Regions from separate parts of the Homo sapiens genome. Here region 2 is linked to region 1. The links are contacts of gene promoters, found by promoter capture Hi-C in human tissues and cell types (Jung and others, 2019). All regions are on one chromosome and are shown on one strand. The core of a region is centred on a gene start or on the middle of the fragment in contact, and the rest is flanking DNA. Distances in the headings are between cores, read along the strand shown. Region 1 holds the start of UNC13A (unc-13 homolog A). Region 2 holds the start of B3GNT3 (UDP-GlcNAc:betaGal beta-1,3-N-acetylglucosaminyltransferase 3).

Region 1 (2,853 bases), core at 135-2,634:
CCCCTTCCCCCACCCCAGCCTTCTTGAAATGGGTGGGAGTGACGGGGGGACCCCAGTCCTTAAGAACCAGGGGTTCAGAGCTCTGTAGGCGTGGAACGGCGGTCCACATCCACCCCTGCCGCCCAAGGTCTCCCAGAGTTTGATTTCTCAAACGGGAGTGCCCAGAACGCCTGGGTTCGGTTGGGCTGGCTTCCCCACGACCCCAGAGCCATAAAGGTGTGGGGTGGGGGGTCATGCCCCTCCCACGTCTCCCTCCCTCCTCCAACCCCAACGCAGAGCGTGGGCCTGGGCGTGGGCCTCTGTGCAGATGGCGTTCTGGCCCCAAAATAGCTCCCCCCCCACCTCACGTCTCCCTCCCTCCCTCTCTCCAGTGCAAAGTGGGTGAGGTGAGGATGGGCCAGGAGGGGGACCAGGAGACATTGCTCTTCCAAGAAGTAGGCTCCCTGCCGAGAAGGCCCTGAAACGTGTTTGGGAGAACCGGAGGGGGCAGGGAGCGGGAAGACCTTCTGGACATTCCTCCAACCCCCTCACTCGGGAGGCCAAAGAGTTAACTGGAAAAGCGCCCCCAGACCTCCAGTCACAGCCCTCTCTGGACGCTGGGAGGGGTCTCCTGTCTCCACACTCCCCCCACTCCAGTCCTCTTTACACCTAGGGCTGGGAGAGTCCTAGAACTCGTGGATGCCCTGATGGCCAAGCCCCTCTACCTATATCTTACATCCCCACGGCTTGGAGAACCCTCCCACCGCACTCTCCTTCGAATTTCCAGCCGGGTCCGCGTCCATGAGGACCCGTAACCCAGCCCACAACACCAGACCCCTTCCAAGCACCCCTGCAGGCTTCAATCAAACTACCGAGCCCAGACTCTTCCTCACTGACCCTCTAAAAACCTGGTCTACACAGACGCCCCAGTCTAGATCGTTTCCGGGTAGAACCCCGGATACCCGTCCACGTCCACACGGGCCTCCGCGTTCAGCCGCGTCCACACGACCCCTCCAGCAGCGGCCACCAGGACCCCCGAGAGCCCTGCCGCGTCTACACGGATCACCCCCTCCGGGGCCCAGCTGCGTCGACAAGGGCTACCCCTCTCAAAAGTCCAGCCACCTGGACTCGGGTCACCCCCCAGGAACCCCCTGGGAGCCGCATCCACGCGGACCCCGACCCCAGCCCGCGTCCACACGGGTCCCCCGACCCCCAGCCTCGCCTCCTACCTCCAACGCAAAGCAGAGACATGTCTCCGAGCTCGCAGGTGGGCCGGAGGCGGCCGGGCCGGCTCTGTCGGGTCGGGCTCAGCGGCCGCTGGGCTGGGGCATCTCCCGGCTGCAGCCCGCGCTTGGCTCACGCCGGGGCCCGGCCGCCACCGGCCATCTTGGTTCAGCACCGGGGGCGCGGACAGCGCCTGACGTGGCGCTGATGCGGGGCGGGCAGGCGGAGCCCAGGGACGCCTGATGGGGCGGGGGCGCTGCGGGCTGGGGGGGCGTTAAAGGGCCTGGCTCCGGGAAGGGGCGCCTCGCCCCACACCTCCTCGTTGCAGGGGGACAAGGGGCGACGGCGGCCCCCAAGCAGGTTTCCTCCTGTGCAGACCCTCACCTGCACTGAAATGGTGCACGTGCCCCCGCCACCCATGCATGGACATTCCTGCCCTGGTAACCTGGGCAAACGCCTCCCTGCAATACTCAAGCAAGTACAGGCAAATGCAAGCTCTTGTGTGTACGCCCGGCACCAGCACCGGGCAGATGGTCCTGTTCTCTGAGTATCTCTCTTCCTCTGTCTCTACGTCTCTGTCTCTCTAACTCTACTGCCTGGTCTCTTTCTCTCCCTGGGTCTCTGTTCCTCTGACTCTGTCCACTGCTCTCTCAGTCATGTGTCTCTTAGCCTCTCTCTGTAAAGTCTTTTTGCAGCTCTACTGCATCCTGTCTAGGTCTCTCTCTATGTCTCTAAGCCATCCAGCCCATGGGTCCTTGCCCACACTCTGAACTCCTTTTCATCCATCAATGTCTTGTCTGAATATCCTCTCCTCCAGGAAGGCTTCCCTGACTGCCCCAAGCTGAGCCTTTGTTTCTCCTCTCTGGACTCCCCCAGCCCCTATCCCTTCCTCTGATTGGGCCCTGACCCGAACGAAACTCTGCCACTCCTCCCCACTTTTCTTTTTTTTAGATGGAGTCTCCCTCTGCAGCCCAGGCTGGAATGCAGTGACGCAATCTTGGCTCACTGCAACCTCTGCCTCCTGGGATCAAGAGATTCTCCTGCCTCAGCCTCCCCGAGTAGCTGGGACTACAGGCGCATGCCACCATGCCCAGCTTTTTTTTTTTATTTTATTTTTTTTATTTTTAGTAGAGACGAGGTTTCACCATGTTGGCCAGCCTGGTCTTGAACACTTGACCTCAGGGGATCCGCCCATCTCGGCCTCCCAAAGTGCTGGGATTCAGACCTGAGCCACTGCGCCTGGCCCCCTCCCCACATATCAAACTGGGCAGCTCCATGTGGGCCCCTTGCCCTGCAACCTGCTCGCTGTATCACTGGCACCTAAACTAGCATGAAAGGCTGAGCCCCACAGGGTCTCCTGCCCCCAGCCCACATGAAAGAGCTTCATAAATGCAGAATGTGCATGGAGTTGAGTGAGGCCATTGTTCAAAACCAAACTCTGTCTCTCATCACAAGCATGGCCTTGGGCAGGTCTTGTGACCTCCTCGTGCCTCAGTTTCCGCACCTGTAGAATGAATATGATAACAAGTCCTGCCTCACAAGGTTGCTGGAGGTATTACATGAGTTAACATGTGAAACCAGTTGTAATTTTTTTTTTTTTGGAGGTGTAGTCTCAATCTGTGGCCCAGGCTGGAGTGCAGTGGCACCATC
Region 2 (3,047 bases), core at 313-2,812, 110 kb after region 1:
GGGTTGAGCCACCCCGCCCGCCCAGGATGGGACTTTTGGTTCCGGCTCCTTCCCGGCCGACAAATCCCTTCCTGGGGCCATGACTTGGTGAACCCAGGGACCCAACAGGGTGAGCATAGACTCTGAATCAAAGTCCAAGGATGTACCACAGTAAGAAAGTGTGTGCATCCAGAACCGAGGCCAGTAGTGCCACATTTGACACTATGACATTTCCGGTAATTGCCCTCCATACAGTTTTAATCATGCATTTGCTCTGAGGGTTCACTCCCCAGACCTCTCCCATCCAGAGTACCCAGGGGCTATTTCTTACATTTTACAGGTGAGGAAACTGAGGCACAGACAGGCCACATATACACCTCGGCTTCCTCCTCGGGAAGAAACAGGGATGAAGGAGGAAGGAGGGGTTTCCTGAAACCATAGCCCAGCTCACACACCTGGACTTCCCCAACCCCAGAGCTCCCAACGCTGGGTCCAGGCTAGAATCTCCTAGAGATTCAGAGGCAGCACAGGGCAGGGTTCGAATCCTAGCCAACCCAACCCTAAAAATCTACAAATCTGAGGCCAGGTGCAGTGGCTCACATCTATAATCCAGCACCTTGGGGATCTGAGGCAGGAAGGTCACTTGAGGCCCACAGTTAAGACCAGCCTGGGCAACATATCAAAACCCCATATCTAGAAAAATGACAAAAATTAGCCAGGCATGCTGGCGGGTGCCTGTAGTCCCAGCTACTCGGGAGGCTGAGGTGGGAGGATTGCTTGAACTGGGGAGGTCGACATTGTAGCGAGCGGAGATCACACCACTGTACTCTAGCCTGGGTGACAAAGCGAGATCCTGTCTCTCAAAACAAGAAAAAAAGAAAAAGAAAAGACTACAAATCTGTCTGATTGTTGACTTCCAGAACCCTTCCAAATGCCAGCAGGTGGCATCTGGATGTCTGGGGGCACATCGTAGGTTTTCGGGTCCTGGAATTATTTTCAATATAGAGATGGAATCTCACTATGTTGCCCAGGCTGGTCTCAAACTCCTGGGTTCCAGCGATCCGCCCCCCTCGGCCTCTGGAAGTACAGGAGTGAGCCACTGCGCCGACCCCAGCTTCAGGAATCTTTGAACTCCCCGCAGAGAGCAGAGGTGCCGCAAGGTTTAACCTGCCTCCCTCCCTCCTTATCGCCATGGGCTTATCCAATCATTTCTTCACGGAACACACGTGGGCCAACGCTGACCGGGCTCTGTGCCAGGAACCCGCAAGGCGCTGCTTGTTCATCTCCAGCCACGGGGAGCTCATTCCCTAGCAGCGGGCCAGACCCAAGGTGGGGTCGTGAGCCCCGAGAGGGGCGAGGGTGGCAAGAGCGGGATGGCAGAGGTGGCAGCCGGGACCGGAGAGGGGAAGAGGCATGGCCGGGGAGGGAGGAGCCGGCAGAGAACTTCGCCTGGGCCACCAGGAAACTCAGCCGAGCTGGGAAGAGGGGGACTGGCAAGCGGCCAAGGCGGAGGGAGGCAGGAAGGCGTGAGGCCCGGTGGGAGGGAGGAAGCGGGAGAGGGGCGGGAGCTCTGGCTCAGGTAAAAACTCTTTCTTCGGCTCGCGAGCTGAGAGGAGCAGGTAGAGGGGCAGAGGCGGGACTGTCGTCTGGGGGTGAGTGTCGGCAGCCCCCGGAGGATCTGGCGGACCCCAGTGGTGGGGGTTTGGGGGTGGGGAAGTTGTGGCTCTGGAGAAGCCCCTGCCGGTCTCCACCGCGCATACCCTGCAGATGTGGGAACATTCGGGAGCCCCGAGTCTCGAGAACCCGGTTGCCCTCACCCATCCGTAATTGTCTCCGGCGTTCCCAAGGCCAGCTCGGACCTGGGTCGGGGAGGAAGCCTCCCCCACAGCTGGCGACCCGGGACCCCGGCGCCCCTCCCAGATTGGGCGGGATCAGACCCCCGAGGCGGATGCCGCTTAGTCAGACTTGGCTGTTACTGTTACCTGTGTTGTTGAGATTATTGGCCCCTTGGTTGGGAGTATCTGGGCAAGCCAGCGCTGGGGTCCCCGGTTGGGTTTGGGAACTGCAGGTGACCCCCAGTCTCTCCCTGCGGTTCCGGTGCTGCAGGCCCTGCCAGGTGGCTGGGCGGCATTCCAGGGGCCCTGGCTGCGTGGCATGGACACATTGCTGAACCGGCCTCAGTTTCCCCTCCGTGAGGTGGAACAATGAACCAGCTGGGATGAGGATGCCCGAAGCGTTTAGTCAAAGGAAATTTTTGTGATGAGGTGTACTGCTGGCCACTGGGGGCCCTTGCGTGACTGGCGTTAGGTCTCTGAGCCTCAGTTTCCCTGTGTGTTAAGGGGGGGTCTCATGGCATGGGACCTTGGCGAGGATGAGTTGAGTGGATAGGAGCTGTGGCCACTCAGTGGGTGCCCAGGGACAGTCAGCTGTCATCATAATTATATTAATTATGTCTGTAGCCACTGTTCAGATTCACTCCTGTTCCAAGAATCCCGACCATCTTTTCCTCTGGGTCAGATTTAAACTTTTTGTTTGTTTGTTTTATTTGTAGAGGTGGGGGACTCACTTTGTCACCCAGGCTGGAGTACAGTGGCTCCATGCACTGTATTCACTGCAGCCTCAACCTCCTGGGCTCAAGTGATCCTCCCACCTCAGCCTCCCGAGTAGCTGGGACTACAGGTGCACACCACAGGCAGCTAATTTTAAAATTTTTTTGTGTGTGGAGACGGGGTCTCACTATGTTGTCCAGGCTGGTCTCAAACTCCTGGGCCCAAGCAATCCTCCTGCCTTGGCATCTGAAAGTGCTGGGATTTCAGGCATGAGCCACTATGCCCAGCTCTGATTTTTTTAAATGGACACTTCTCAAGAGGAAACTGAGGTCGCCCCTCAACTTGGGCGGGGGACTCCTGCAGTCCAGATCTGGGATTCAGGGCCCATGGGAAGCCACCTGGCCGTCTAGGTCTGGGGCCAGCCCTGGGGGCCATCACTTCCTCCCACTGGCCTGTTCTCAAGGTGACACCAGGCAGGGCTGGTGTCAGGAGGAAGAGGTGTGGCCCCCAGGTCAGGCA

The links. Contacts are between HindIII fragments. The study calls those that stand out against the background at their distance.
Region 2: a contact is called between the fragment with the promoter of B3GNT3 here and the fragment with the promoter of UNC13A in region 1, in 4 of the 25 tissues and cell types used here (adrenal gland, lymphoblastoid cells, mesenchymal stem cells and 1 more).

The regions. Positions count from the first base shown.
Region 1 is chr19:17,686,970-17,689,822 of GRCh38, forward strand. It overlaps UNC13A (unc-13 homolog A), which reads right to left and starts at 1,385. Exons shown (of 44, transcript NM_001080421.3): 1 at 1,209-1,385. The coding sequence starts at 1,230. RefSeq lists enhancers at 1-526, 527-1,487 and a silencer at 721-903. The HindIII fragment of the contact is 19,419 bases long and covers 1-2,853 here.
Region 2 is chr19:17,793,576-17,796,622 of GRCh38, forward strand. B3GNT3 (UDP-GlcNAc:betaGal beta-1,3-N-acetylglucosaminyltransferase 3) reads left to right here and starts at 1,563. Exons shown (of 3, transcript NM_014256.4): 1 at 1,563-1,631. RefSeq lists enhancers at 761-1,458, 1,459-2,156. The HindIII fragment of the contact is 34,117 bases long and covers 1-3,047 here.